Regions from separate parts of the Homo sapiens genome. Here all the other regions are linked to region 2. The links are contacts of gene promoters, found by promoter capture Hi-C in blood cells and fetal thymus (Javierre and others, 2016). All regions are on one chromosome and are shown on one strand. The core of a region is centred on a gene start or on the middle of the fragment in contact, and the rest is flanking DNA. Distances in the headings are between cores, read along the strand shown.

The links. The method cuts DNA at HindIII sites, captures the fragments that hold promoters and counts their contacts. A CHiCAGO score of 5 or more calls a contact.
Region 1: a fragment that was not itself captured here is called in contact with the fragment with the promoter of RBBP7 in region 2 in 1 of 17 cell types (activated CD4 T cells); the score reaches 5.3 in activated CD4 T cells.
Region 3: a fragment that was not itself captured here is called in contact with the fragment with the promoter of RBBP7 in region 2 in 6 of 17 cell types (non-activated CD4 T cells, total CD4 T cells, total CD8 T cells and 3 more); the score reaches 9.5 in non-activated CD4 T cells.
Region 4: the fragment with the promoter of ZRSR2 here is called in contact with the fragment with the promoter of RBBP7 in region 2 in 4 of 17 cell types (non-activated CD4 T cells, total CD4 T cells, naive CD8 T cells and 1 more); the score reaches 7.1 in non-activated CD4 T cells.
Region 5: a fragment that was not itself captured here is called in contact with the fragment with the promoter of RBBP7 in region 2 in 2 of 17 cell types (total CD8 T cells and naive CD8 T cells); the score reaches 6.6 in total CD8 T cells.

The regions. Positions count from the first base shown.
Region 1 is chrX:15,807,994-15,810,721 of GRCh38, forward strand. It overlaps ZRSR2 (zinc finger CCCH-type, RNA binding motif and serine/arginine rich 2), which reads left to right. Exons shown (of 11, transcript NM_005089.4): 6 at 240-278; 7 at 1,207-1,325. Among named protein-coding and RNA genes, the nearest start is that of ZRSR2, 19 kb to the left of the region's middle. The HindIII fragment of the contact is 2,450 bases long and covers 242-2,691 here.
Region 2 is chrX:16,868,950-16,871,649 of GRCh38, forward strand. RBBP7 (RB binding protein 7, chromatin remodeling factor) reads right to left here and starts at 1,413. Exons shown (of 12, transcript NM_002893.4): 1 at 1,089-1,413; 2 at 127-271. The coding sequence starts at 1,104. RefSeq lists enhancers at 330-419, 1,429-2,107 and silencers at 640-979, 1,000-1,049, 1,380-1,689. The HindIII fragment of the contact is 7,607 bases long and covers 1-2,700 here.
Region 3 is chrX:15,670,831-15,673,530 of GRCh38, forward strand. It overlaps a transcript of CLTRN not described here. Among named protein-coding and RNA genes, the nearest start is that of CA5BP1-CA5B, 3.3 kb to the right of the region's middle. The HindIII fragment of the contact is 2,251 bases long and covers 181-2,431 here.
Region 4 is chrX:15,789,124-15,791,823 of GRCh38, forward strand. ZRSR2 (zinc finger CCCH-type, RNA binding motif and serine/arginine rich 2) reads left to right here and starts at 1,361. Exons shown (of 11, transcript NM_005089.4): 1 at 1,361-1,413; 2 at 1,811-1,890. The coding sequence starts at 1,373. RefSeq lists enhancers at 1,239-1,688, 2,347-2,700. The HindIII fragment of the contact is 2,263 bases long and covers 1-2,147 here.
Region 5 is chrX:15,734,136-15,736,835 of GRCh38, forward strand. All of the region lies in intron 4 of CA5BP1-CA5B (CA5BP1-CA5B readthrough), which reads left to right. Among named protein-coding and RNA genes, the nearest start is that of CA5B, 2.8 kb to the right of the region's middle. The HindIII fragment of the contact is 3,678 bases long and covers 1-2,700 here.

The sequences.
Region 1 (2,728 bases), core at 217-2,716, 1.1 Mb before region 2:
CACGCCACTGCACTCCAGCCTGGGTGACAGAGTGAGACCCTGTCTCAAAAAAAAAAGAGAAAAGTCTCAGCTATATATCCTTTGAAAGCTTTTCAAAAGATCTGTGATTCAAAAGAAAACTAGAACTTGTGTGCGTGTGTGTGTTTTAATTGTTCCACTTGAGATTCTTAACCAGAGAAACCAGATGTGACTTACCTGACTTCTGGGTTTTTATTAGTCCTGTGTTTGCACCATTTTAGGAAGCTTTGCAGAAGATGCTGGATCAGGCTGAAAATGAGGTATTTTTAAAACCTTACATTGATAATTTGAGACCAATTAATGTTTCCTTAGAAATAATAGTTCCAGTAATGTTAGTTTCGTGGTAGGTTAGTTAGATCATGTTTGGATATCTGGACTCATGTTTATGATGCTTTGATTTATACAACAACAACAAACTTTATTGATGAACAAATACAAATGGTATTCATGACCCCTGTGGACTGGACCTGTTTAGAGTCCTTACAGTATGTTTAAGCAACATCACATACCGTTAGCCTCCAGTGGACGGTTTACCTTGAATCAGAGTAACTTCTATTTCTGTCTGTGGTGGTTCCCTAATAAGTTCTTGGACCCTTTTTTTTCTCTTTTTTTCTTTTTTTTTTTTTTGAGACGGAGTTTTGCTCTTGTTGCCCAGGCTGGAGTACAGTGGTATGATCTCGGCTCACTGCAACCTCCGCCTCCCGGGTTCAAGCAACTCTCCTGCCCCAGCCTCCCAAGTAGCTGGGATTATAGGTGTGCACCACCACGCCCAGCTAATTTTATATTTTTAGTAGAGATGGGGTTTCTCCATGTTGGTCAGGCTGGTCTTGAACTCCTGATCTCAGGTGATCCACCCACCTCGGCCTCCCAAAGTGCTGGGATTACAGGCGTGAGCCACTGCACCCGGCCTTCTTGGACCCTTTTTAGAATGGATGGAAACCTTGGCGACTGCCCCTGGTGGCAGTAGTGATACCAGATAAAGGAAAGTGACCAGGAGCCAAGAGAGACATGGAGCTCATGTCTCAGTACCGTTGTTTGTAAAGTCTTGATTGCCTGTTCCAACTTAAATGTTTGCATTATTAAATGAAACAATGTTTATCTTTGAGGAAAATATTTTAATATACTTTGAAACATTTCGTCTTTCATGGGTTTTTACTCCACCAGTAAAGTCATGGTTATTTTCAACAGTTGGAAAATGGTACCACATGGCAAAACCCAGAACCACCCGTGGATTTCAGAGTAATGGAGAAGGATCGAGCTAATTGTCCCTTCTACAGTAAAACAGGAGCTTGCAGATTTGGAGATAGGTAACTAATTTTGTTTTATCATGTCAGAATGAAGTGATTCAAAATGCTGACGTTTTTGAGTTCCCCTTTTGGGAGAGGCGCATGTTTCCATTTCAAATGTCCGTCATCAGACATCTGCTGCCTTCTTGCTGCTGCTCTCGTTTTCCCAGCTGATCATCCTCTGCTTTGACCATCCCTGTTCCCTCTATCCTTGTTCCCTGGGTGGGCTTAGCCTAGTTCTCTGAGGGTGCTTCCTTTGCATTCTGCATCTTTAGGAAGCCACTTTGCTTGTTGGTTTCTTCCTGAGCTTGCATTAGTCCATGGTGGACAACTGGGTTGGGGAAATAATATATTTGAAGAGCTTAGAGCAGCTTGGCTTTATTTTTTGAAGGGCACACACTGTCCCCAAAACAGGCTTTTAAAACTTGGCATGTGCCAGGAGTTCCAGGCTGCAGTAAGCTATGACCACACCACTGCACTCCAGCCTGGGTGACAAAACAAGACCCTGTCTCAAAAAAGAAAAAAAAAAACAAAACTTGGCATGTGTAAAGGGATATCTGTGAAAGACAGGATCCAAATGAGGAGAGGAAAAGTGTTTTAATTTCTGTTGTCAGTGAGTGTGCCCAGACTCAGGTACAGACCGTTGGGTTCAAAACGGGCTTCAGTGGCTGCCAGTTTGGGAAAGTTGCTTAAGCTCTGTGTGCCTTCGTTCTCTCATCTATGAAATGGGATTAAACATAGTCTCATCTTTCTGAGGGGGCTGTGAGGCCGAAATGAGCACACACACCCGTAGAACAGGGCCCCAGGAGTGCTTGCTGGCATTTTCATTATTGTGACTCTTGATGTTATTCTGTGAGACACTCTTCTTGTTCCCTGCCCCTTTTGGGTCAATGTTTTTGAAAGAAGACGTTCATGTGGAAACCTAGTGTTGATCTCTTCAGTCATTTAGCAAGTCTTCGAACACCTATTATATGCCAGGTAATGGTGATTTTTATAATTTGGCCTGTTTATTAATGAACAACTTAAAGTAGGTAAATAATTCCTAATGGTGAATGAGTCCATCTGAGGCAAAATCTGATAATTATCACCATATATTCTGCAGAAGAGAAGATCTAATCATAACCTTAACATCCTATTAATCCTGAAAAGGGATATGAATAGTAAAATTCAGATGTATTTAATCAGAAACCATATGTCATCTGTCAGCTTTACTTTATTCATAAAAGTATCCATGCTGTGAGGTTTTTTTCCTTCTTCTTCTTCTTTGAAAATATATCCTTCTCTATGGTTCTCTCCTTTTTCTTTTTGAATTTAAGCGTTCACACCATTTTTCATTTTTTAAGAACAGTGGTTCCCAACCCTGGATGCACATTAGAGTCATCTAGAAAGCTTTAAAAAATTATGTCCTACCTCAAGTTGAGTAA
Region 2 (2,700 bases), core at 163-2,662:
AAAACCACCTGCCACCTCATGCAAGGGCTGATTACATACTTATGTTCTATGCATAAAACGCCAAAACTAGGAAATTCAGAACGACAGTTAAATTTAAACAAAATAAAAGTTGCCAGAAACCCTTACTTAGTCACTTCAGGAAGCCACTGAACGGTAAGACTGGGCCACTGAAGAGCATGGGTCATAACCAGGTCATATAGAAACGGTGTATTCTTCTTCCAGATTTTATATTCTTCATTGATGACACGCTCCTCCACAGTATCTTCAAACACTGAAATTTGGAGAAAGCCCACACGATTAAGTGGCTGAGATAGATCAAAGTCAGAAATTGGAGGTCACCTCAAGATGGCCACACCTCATGTACTCTTTCCTTTTACCTCTAATTTGGACACGGACAACTAACTGCTCTTCCAGAAGGTGGAGAAAATACTAACAATCAGGAAGCCTATTTTTTCCATTGAGATCAATACCCCCTGCGTACACCATGTTGGGTAGTCAATTACACGGACATGGAAATTGTTTACCCTGTTACAGCTGTTCGCACCTGTTCTAAGATGACGACCTGTACGTACAGGGGCTGCGCGACCCAGTCGGGAAGACAAATGCACGTGTAGCAGAAGCCCACAGGCCTGGTCTCTCCAATCCCCATCAGGGGAGGCCCCAGCTCCCACGACGCCCGCCTCGGCAGCCATAGGCCTGAGGACCCCAGCAACCCCCGGACAAGGGCCGCGACCCCGAGGCGGTCAACGCGCGCGCGCGCGTAGAAAGAGCCGCGGCGCTCGCTTCCCAGCGGCGGGGGCCGCCTCCGCCCCGGGGCCGAGGGCGCCGGAGGGAGCGCAGCCGCTGGAGGAGGGAAGGGAAGAGGGGGGCCCAGCCCTCGGCCCCGCGCCCGGCTCCGGAAGTGCTCGGAGCCCTCGGCGCGGCGGTCCCGTCCCGCGCAGGCCCCTCGAGGCGCGCGCCCAGTCTCGCGCCCGGCCCCGCCCCCTGCTCCGCACGCCAATTCGCGCCTTTCGCCGGCGCGTGCCGCGGCCTCGCGCGCCCGCCGCCCCCCGCGGCCCCGGCGCGCGCCGCCCCGCAGGGCCTCTTACTCTCTTTACTCGCCATCTTGCGTCGGGTCGTTCGCCCCTCGCCGCCGCCTCGGACTCCTCTCGTTAGCCAAGAGCAGCCCGACCGCTGGCGCTCCTGCCTTTCCCAAGCGCGTCACACTCCCCACTGTCGAAAGCCCGGGCCCCGTCTTGCTGCCTGGGTGCTCCCCAGACGCCGCGTCCTTCTTTCCTGCCTCCTCCCCGCTCGCGGGTACCGAGGTCTGAGGCGCTCTTCTCTCTCTCTCCAAACTTGGAACGAGACTTTTCAACCCGCGCCTCCCAGCCCGCCCAGGCAGCTGAGCGCAGGCGCATCCGCCCTGGGAAAAGTGAGAGGAGGCGGAGAGGCGGGTCTGGGAGCCAACGGCTCCGGCGCCGAGACCAATGACGCGCGGCGGGCGGGTTTCACGCGGCGTTCGGAGGCGGGCTTCTGGGGGTGGGCGGAGCGTGCCGCGGCAGGAAGTTGGCGATGCGCAGGCGCGAGGGCTCGCCCGGCGCTCCCAGGGCCGGCCGCGGAGGCGGATGGGGCGCGCGGGGGCGGGGCGGATGAGGGCCCGAGGGGGCGGGGCGGATGGGGGCGCGCGAGGGCGGGGCTGATGGAGGCGCGGCTGGCCGGCTGAGTGGGGGCCGCGAGCCCCGGGGCGGCGAGCCTTGGGGCCCGCGGGGCGTGGTTGCTTGTAGCGGCAGCGGTGGTGGGGGTGAGAGGGGGGCAGGGAGGCTGCCGCCGCTTAGCCAAGCAAAATCTCAGAGCAAGAGGGGAAAATGGTTCCTGTTCTCGAGAGATTACTGTGCCTTCAAAGTCTCCCTGATAATCACGGACATGCAATTCTCTGCACCCCTGAAATGTTCTCCTCCAGCCGACTGGCCTTTCCTGGGGCCCGGTCGGGCCGAGGTGGGGCTGGTCTCAGACGGAGGAGAGCTTTTGGAGAGGCCGCGGGCGTTTTCTGCCTGCAAAAGCCGCCGGGCCGCCCTGTTAGGCTAAATGTGCAGCCTGTGGCGGCACAGGCCGCCGGCGGGCCGAAGCCGATTTACACTGTTACATTTTAATTTGTTCGATGTTTGGGTCCTTAAGATGATGGTTTGCGGCCTCTTCGCGCTTCAGGGGATTTTGTCCCTGCACTGGCGTTCCTTTCTCATCCCAGCCCCGGCCCCTGCTGAGTCATTTTTGTCACCTGCAGGGGTCCCAGCGCGACCCCACCCCAAGCTGGCGGAGCTGGAGAGAGCAGGGCTGAACTACCCTGGGCCTGCTTACCTGAGCCCTGCTCTGCTCAGGAACTTCATAGCCCCTGAGGAGTGTGTCGGGGGAGGAGAAAGCTGGCTGCAAGGCCAAAAGGGAAATAGAAGAAAATGAGGGCCAGGAGCAGAGGGGACGGAGTTGGGGGAGGCGACCAAGGTGCCTGCGTGCAAAGGGAACCGAAGTGTACGTCCAGCTCCGGGAGAGGCTCCTCTTGCAAAAGCACCCCCGGAACATTTGCTGCCTTGATACCTTTCCAAGTGCCTTCATGCTCAGATGCTATCTTGCAGATGCCGCTGTCATGCCCACTTTTCTGACCGGGACGCAAACCCAGACGTTAGTCAGTGGCAGAACCAGTCACATTCCCTTCTGTAGATATTTACT
Region 3 (2,700 bases), core at 56-2,555, 1.2 Mb before region 2:
TAATGGAAATAACCCACACAAGGAAGAACAGAAGAAAAAAGGGAGACAAGTGTGTGTGTGTGTGTGTGTGTGTGTGTGTGTGTGTGTGTGTGTGTGTGTGTGTGTGTGGTTTCTCTAAGGCTAAGAATGTAAAAATATATACATTGCAATGCATTTCATGGTACTTAATTTCCAGTCACAAGCTTATTAGAACTTCAGTTTATGATTCAAATTAGTCAACTCAGTTTTCTTAAACTATCATATTCATGGGCTACGAGAAATGCAAAAATGAACCAAATATAGTCTCTGCCCTTCAGGAACTTACAATTTTGTAGGACACAAAAGTAAATCACGATGGCAATAGATGCACATACAATTGTGAACAAAATGCTATAGGAACACTGGAGAAAAAGAGGATAAAAAGTTACTGGATTTGACAAGTCAATTATAAAACTGTTAACAAAAGAAAAATAGAAGAAAGGTTTCTCAATGATAATCAAGATAGACCTGGAACAATGGCAAGATGTTTAAAGATAAAACATGAAAGCCCACAGGATACAAGTTAAGGAAATCTGAAAACAAACACAAAGGACAGATACAGGATATGGCCAACAGCAGGGACTTGCTGGTAGAGTGGTTCAGAGGAAGATGGGGGAGAGAGCATCAGTGTAGATGCATCTGAAAAGCCAAGTTGGGTTCTGATCTTAGAGGTCAGAGAGTCTGGATTCTCCAACAATGGTCCTGAGAGGCTAATGAAGATTTCAATGTGGGAATGGGTTCATTGTAAATGACACAGAGAAGGACAATGGGAGATGGGAAGGACATTCCCTGACAGTGAGTTTCCAATGTGCCCTTTATTTACTAATCACAGGCTGTTGGACTGGCAGCCCACTACGTGCCCATGACTACAAAAAACAGGAAATTATTTTTCATTGGCCATCTTAATAAAAAGATAAATGAGCTTATTTTAATAATAATTTTAGAATATAGAACAGATGATGTTACAATCTTTTGGTATGCTTAATTTTATGCGCGCACACACACACACACACACACACACACACACACACACACAATTTCCAGTATCCTTGGTAAGCAAGAAACTCTATAATGTGGAATATTTTTGTCTCCATCACATATATCCCCTTTTTAAGATGAGAAATCATATTAAGCAAGGATATTTGAAAAGCTCATCAAATTTTGTAGGTTAATCAGTAGCCATAATCATTATGAACTTTGTCTTATTCTTCACAAGTTAACATTTTTCTACTTCAGAGAAAGTTAATCACTACCGTTTGGAAATAAAAATTAATTCAGATCAACTGAGTGAGTGTAATTCTGCCAACTTTATGCTCCTAAAGTAGCAATTTAAAGGACAGTTTCTTAAATGGGAAAAAAAAAGTATGTGTGTCTGTGTGTTTCATCTTGTGCATGGAGACCAATGCTTTATAATGGGTCTCATGTAGTTAAAGCAAGACATTTCTTTTACAGGTTTAGCTGGTTCCACTGTTGCTCAGGTGTAAGAGTTTTCTCATGATTTGGCAAGTCAATTTTCTCTTTTTACTAGGCTAACAGTATTGCAGCCATGGTCTATGAAATAGTATTTTCCATCCTTAATCATCAATTTGCCCACCAGTTGGAGGTCACCTAGTCACATTTAGCCCTGACAACAGGTACTTCTTTTGCCAACCTCTATAAAGGGTGTGGGGGCGGGGGCGGGATCAGACCACATAACTTTTAGGTTATATGCTCTCATTAATATTAAAGACATATGAATTAATCAATATCTCAGAATTTCTGATCCTACGTTTCGGCCAGTGATGACCCTGAACCCTCTACTGTCTGAAATTCATCAAAAGTCTTATGAGAAATGTTTTTGTGGACTGCCTAAAAGATGTGCACAAGAGATCCCTATTACTACAAATCAGAGATGACAGGTTGTTTGCAGCCATTTGCTCATCCCACACCCATGACAAACATTTTTTATCTATTTCAGAACTTTTTCCTTCTGTGCATGGACTCAGCCACCCCAACTGAGCTATTCAGTCCACTAATATGAATAAATGGGAGTTGACATGTGAGTTGAAACTTATGTGCCATTATGGGGAAAGATTATCTAAATGCTACCCTGAATTAAACCAGACCATTGTGGGGCTGTGTACTCAGTCGAACAGGAAATTTTGGATGGTTCATGAAATTGATTCAGTGCCCTGTGCTTTGTGATTATGCCAACAGTTTCCATTGAGGGAATGTGGGTGTAACAACTTATGACACTTATTTCCCACGTAGCTCACAGCGTCATCATGATGAGGAACTGGGATTTGCCTTGGGGCTAAAAATTATTTTTAAAAAAACAAACAGTGCTTCTCAAAAGCAAACAAAATCCTGATTGATTGGTTTTTATGAACACCGTAAAACTTTAAAATACTTGTTATCTCCTGTTTTCTATGGAAGCTTAGAGTGAGATCTCTTGCCCACCTTCAAAAACTGTTCTGGATCTGAAAGTGTGCATACTTGAGTGTTAATCTTACCATTGGCTACATTATTTATTCTCCCTCCATGAATTTCCCCTCTGGTTCCTTAAACTATAATACTTACTTTATACAGTGTTGCCTATATTTTGGTACGCGGCCTCAAATCATCTGGGAGAAAATAATGCTATAAAAATCAATGCAGTAATTTACACAGGCTGCACTTGATCCCATTTCCGGTGTGTTTAAT
Region 4 (2,700 bases), core at 111-2,610, 1.1 Mb before region 2:
TATTCTCGAATTGCACTTTATTTTGTTTTGTTTTTTTGAGACGGAGCCTTGCTCTGTTGCCCAGGCTGGAGGGCAGTGGTGCCATCTCGGCTCACTGCGGCCGCCACCTCCTGGGTTCAAGCAGTTCTCCTGTTTCAGCCTCCAGAGTAGCTGGGACTACAGGCATGTGCCACCACACCCGGCTAATTTTGTATTTTTAGTAGAGACGGGGTTTCACCATGTTGGCCAGGCTGACGAACTCCTGACCTCAGGTGATCCACCCGCCTAGGCCTCCCAAAGTGCTGGGATTACAGGCGTGAGCCGCTGCACCCAGCCTCGAACTGCACTTTAAATTGGATAGCTGGGCGGGCGTGGTGGCTCGCGCCTGTATTCCCAGCTACTCGGGAGGCTGAGGTGGAAGGATTGCTTGACCCCAGGAGGTCGAAGCTGCAGCGAGTCGTGATTGCGCCACTGCACTCCAACCTGGGTGAAAGACAAGACCCTGTCTCTAATATATAAGAAATGAATAAATAAATAAATTCGATTGCCAAAATTCTTGCTGTTCCCAGCATATTCCACTTTCACCTTTCAGCGCCTTTGCTTATGCTGATCTGACTGTAACTGCATTCCCACCCTTCTCCTTCTGGGTAAAGGGCATCTTCTTTCCAAACTCAACTCTTAGCATCAGAAAGCTGTCCCTGATACTGCAGTTGAGTCGCATGTGATACTGAAAAAAAAAGAAAAAAGGAAAAAAAAGAGAGCTCTCCCTGAATCCCTTGGTGGACTATGTTAGGTAAACTTCATCTTTGCCTGCATCATATTATGTATTGGTTCTTCTCTGCCCCCTCGATTGTAAACTCCTCAGGGGCAGAGGTAACAGCTTTGCAGCCCTGGGAGTTAGGTTTGCTTAAGGGACCAGAACAGGTGTGACTGGCAGGGAGCGAAGTCTGGAGCTTTGTCTGAGGCGCTGATAGGTGGATCGGCGGAAGGACGCGGAACCTGGACAGGTCGGAAATAAAGCCGGGCGAGCAGCTCTGTGCGCGATGTGACTTCATGAGTGGATGCTGAGAAAAGCGGCAGAGTACGACTTTAACCGCCTAGCCACAACACGTCCTGCTAGGGCGAGGAGGGAGACAGTGATACAGCACTGGGCAAGTGCTGAAGCGACAATTACTTCTAGGGCGGGGTAAAAGCCCCAGAGTATTTTTGCTGGAAGGAGGTATTTATTTGAGCAGGGTTCTGGAAGACGAGCCGCCGAAGGGTACCTCCGGCTTTCCGTTTCAAGTCCCACGCTGGTGGAGGTTGCTCGGTACCCGCGCCTGCGCGTGCCCGTCTCGACTCTTAGGCCCGCCCTTTCCTGCCAGACCTGGAGGGGCGGGGCGGTGCCGGCAAGATGGCTGCGCCCGAGAAGATGACGTTTCCCGAGAAACCAAGGTAAGCGCCGTACGGGGAGATGAGCAGGCGAGCGGGCCGATCGTGGGCATGGAGGATGTGGTGGCAGGAAGAAAAGAGAAGCTGGGCCAAGCTAAGTGAGCCACCGCGGCAGCTCCATTCCTTCCTGGTGCGCGCTCTGGTGCCCTCCCCGGACTTGCACGGGCGGCTGTGGCTCAGGCAAGCGAGGAGAGGATCAGGTTGGCGGATGGAGAAGAACTGTCTGGGAGTGGGAGGATGAGGCGATGATAGATGGCTGTTCTGTAATTAAAATACAGGAAGCAAGGTTTCTCTCCTCAGCACCCGAACTATTTCCTTTCATTGGGCACAGAGGAGCGGGGAGCTCGGGCAGCGCTGCATTGTAGCCGCTGATCGTCGTGTATATGTCTTAATCTTCCAGCCACAAAAAGTACAGGGCCGCCCTGAAGAAGGAGAAACGAAAGAAACGTCGGCAGGAACTTGCTCGACTGAGAGACTCAGGTGATGGACTCTTTATTCTGTTTTCTGTGTTGTGAAATTGCTCTGTCCACTCCAGCCCTAACTTGAAGCCCCAGTGTCAGAAGGAAGTCAAATATTGTGTCGGAGGAAAAATAGCTGTGACTTCTGCCCCCAAGTAGTTATTTAGAAACACATGTCAGAAACAATGTTAACATACTAAAGGCAGGAAGAGGAAGTCTTGGTGAATGATCGCCCACTGATTCTGTGTAACTTATAAAGTATCTAATATTACAGTTGCAAGCTTCATGAATTACAGCAGCTAGCACAGTCCTTGCACACGTAGTAAGTATTCGGTGAATGTTTTTCTTCGTAAAACCAGCAGGAGTTGAAGGTATTAATTAGACGTTTTGCAAGTTTTTCTCAAACTTGACTAATATGAGACCCTTGGTTTACCCAAATTATTATGTTATTCAAATATATATCAACATAATACTAGTTATGAAGCTCATTTATTTATTTTTGAGACAGGGTCTTGTTCTGTTGCCCAGGAGGGATGTGCACAACCACGGCTCACAGCAGCCTCCACCTCCCAGGCTCAAGCAGTCCTCCCACCTCAGCCTCCCTAGTAGCTGGGACTACAGGCATTCACCACCACACCTGGCTAATTTTTTCTTTTCTTTTCTTTTTTTTTTTTTTTTTTTTTGAGACGGAGTCTCGCTCTGTTGCCCAGGCTGGAGTGCAGTGGCACGATCTTGGCTCACTGCAGCCTCCGCCCCCTGGGTTCAAGCAGTTCTCCTGCTGCAGCCTCCCGAGTAGCTGGGATTACAGGCGTGCGCAACCACACCCGGCTAA
Region 5 (2,700 bases), core at 94-2,593, 1.1 Mb before region 2:
CTCATCTTCCTGAGTAGCTGAGATTACAGGTGCCCACCACCGCGCCTAGCTAATTTTTGTATTTTTAGTAGAGACAGTGTTTCGCCATGTTGGCCAGGCCAGTCTCGAACTCCTGACCTCAGGTGATCTGCCTGCCTCGGTCTCCCAAAGTGCTGGGATTATAGGCATGAGCCACCGTGCCAGCCTCAGAGTGTCTTATAGAACCTCAGGATTGCATCTCCTGGCAGCATGCTTGAAATCTAGAATCTCAAGTCACATCGCGGAACCACTGCATCAGAGTCTGCATTGTAACATGATCTTCGGGTGATCTCTGGGCACAGTGCAGATTGAGAGGCTCTGGATACAACTTCAGATATGGTTGTCAGGAAAAACATATCTAAAGAGGTGACATTTTAGCTAAGTACTGAATAATGAGAAAACTCCAGCCATGTAAAGATCCGAGTAAAGAGTGGTCCAAACAATGGGAACAACAAAAGAAAATGTTCAGAGACAGGAATGAACATGGGAAGACCAGTATAGGTGGATCAGAGTGAGAAAGGGACCTGGAACTCTCTACACTCTGGTATTTATCAAAAACCCTGTGGTGAGAAATTATTTATTTATTTATTTATTTTTGAGACGGAGTTTCGCTGTTGTTGCCCAGCCGGGAGTGCAATGGTGCAATCTCGGCTCACTGCAACCTCTGCCTCCCAGGTTCAAGCAATTCTCCTGCCTCAGCCTCCCTAGTAGCTGGGATTACAGGCATGTGCCACCATGCCTGGATAATCTTCTATTTTTCGTAGAGATGGGGTTTCTCCAGGTTGGTCAGGCTGGTCTCAAACTCCTGACCTCAGGTGATCTGCCCGCCTCAGCCTCCCAAAGTGCTGGGATTACAGGCATGAGCTGCTGCGCCTGGCCACGAGAATTGTTGATTTTGAGTGACTGCACAAAGTTCTGCATGCAAGACCTCTATTTCTACAAAGCAGAGGTACCAGGTAGGTTATTGCATGCAGCCACTTACCTATCCTGCACCCACAGCATTGTTAACTGAGTACAGAACTTTTTCTTTCTGAGCCTGGACAAAGCCCCCAAACTTCTCAACATAGTTATTCAGGCAGCTACTACAAATAGTTCAGAGTTAACATGTGAGTTGAAACCTATTTGCCATCCTGGGGAAAGATGATCTAAATGCTACCCTGGATTAAGCCAGACCATTGAGGGCTTGTGTATTCAAGTGAACAGAAATATGTTGATGGTTCATGGAATTTTTTTTTTTTTTGATACAGGGTCTCAGTCTGTTGCCCAGGCTGTAATGCCGTGGTGTGATCACGGCTCACTGCAGCCTCAGCCTCCCTAGGCTCAGATGATCCTCTCACTTCAGCCTCCCAAGTAGCTGGGACTACAAGCATACATCACCACACTCAGCTAATTTTGTAGAGATGGGGCTTCACCATGTTGTCCAGGCCGGTCTCTAACTCGTGGGCTCATGCAATCCTCCTGCCTCAGCCTCCCAAACTACTGGGATTACAGGCCTGAGCCACTATGCCTGGCCAATTCATAGAATTGATTTAATGCACTGTGCTTTGTGATTGTGCCAACAGTTTCCATTGAGGGGATTTGGGTGTCACTCCTTATGACACATAGTTCCCACTAGGCTCACTACATCATCTTTATGAGGAAACTGTATTTCTCTCAGGACTAAAATTCAAGAAAAACTGCTTCTATAAAAACAAAACAGCCGGGCACGGTGGCTCCCGCCTGTAATCCCAGCACTTTGGGAGGCTGAGGCAAGTGGATCACCTGAGGCCAGGAGTTCGAGACCAGCCTGGCCAGCATGGTGAAACCCCGTCTCTACTAAAAATACAAAAATTAGCTGGGCATGGTGGCGGGCGCCTGTAATCCCAGCTATTTGGGAGGCTGAGGCAGGAGAATCACTTGAACCCGGGAGGCAGAGGTTGCAGTGAGCCGAGATCATGCCATTGCACTCCAGCCTGGGCAACAAGAGTGAAATTCCATTAAAAAAAAAAAAAAAAAAAAAAAGGCCGGGTGCAGTGGCTCACACCTGTAATCCCAGCACTTTGGGAGGCCGAGGCGGGTGGATCACCTGAGGTCGGGAGTTCAAGACCAGCCTGACCAACATGGAGAAACCCCATCTCTACTAAAAATACAAAATTAGCCGGGCATGATGGTGCATGCCTGTAATTCCAGCTACTCAGGAGGCTGAGGCAGGAGAATCGCTTGAACCTGAGGGCCGAAGGTTGCAGTGAGCTGAGATCGCGCCATTGCACTCCAGCCTGGGCAACAAGTGCAAAACTCTGTCTCAAAAAAAAAAAAAAAAAAAAGGGAAAAGAAAAAAAGCCAGTTTTTATCTTATGAACAGTAAAAACCTAAAAATGATTGCTATTTCCTCTTTTCTATGGCTATTCAACAGCTTAGTTAGGGTCAAATTTCTGGCCTACTTCTGACAACTGTTCTGGATCTGATGGAGTGCAAACTTAAATGTTAATCTTATCATTGGCCACATCATTCTCCTTCCATTAAGCTCTCCTTTCACTGGTTCCTTCCCCTATTTTTAAATCTACTAATGTCTATATTTTAGGACGCTGCCTCAAATCATTTGTGGAAGAAGGTGAAGTAGAACTACTTGTATAAAAATAAACTCAGTAATTTATATAGACTGTATTTGGACCAATTTCTGTGAATTCATTTTTCAGGCAAAAA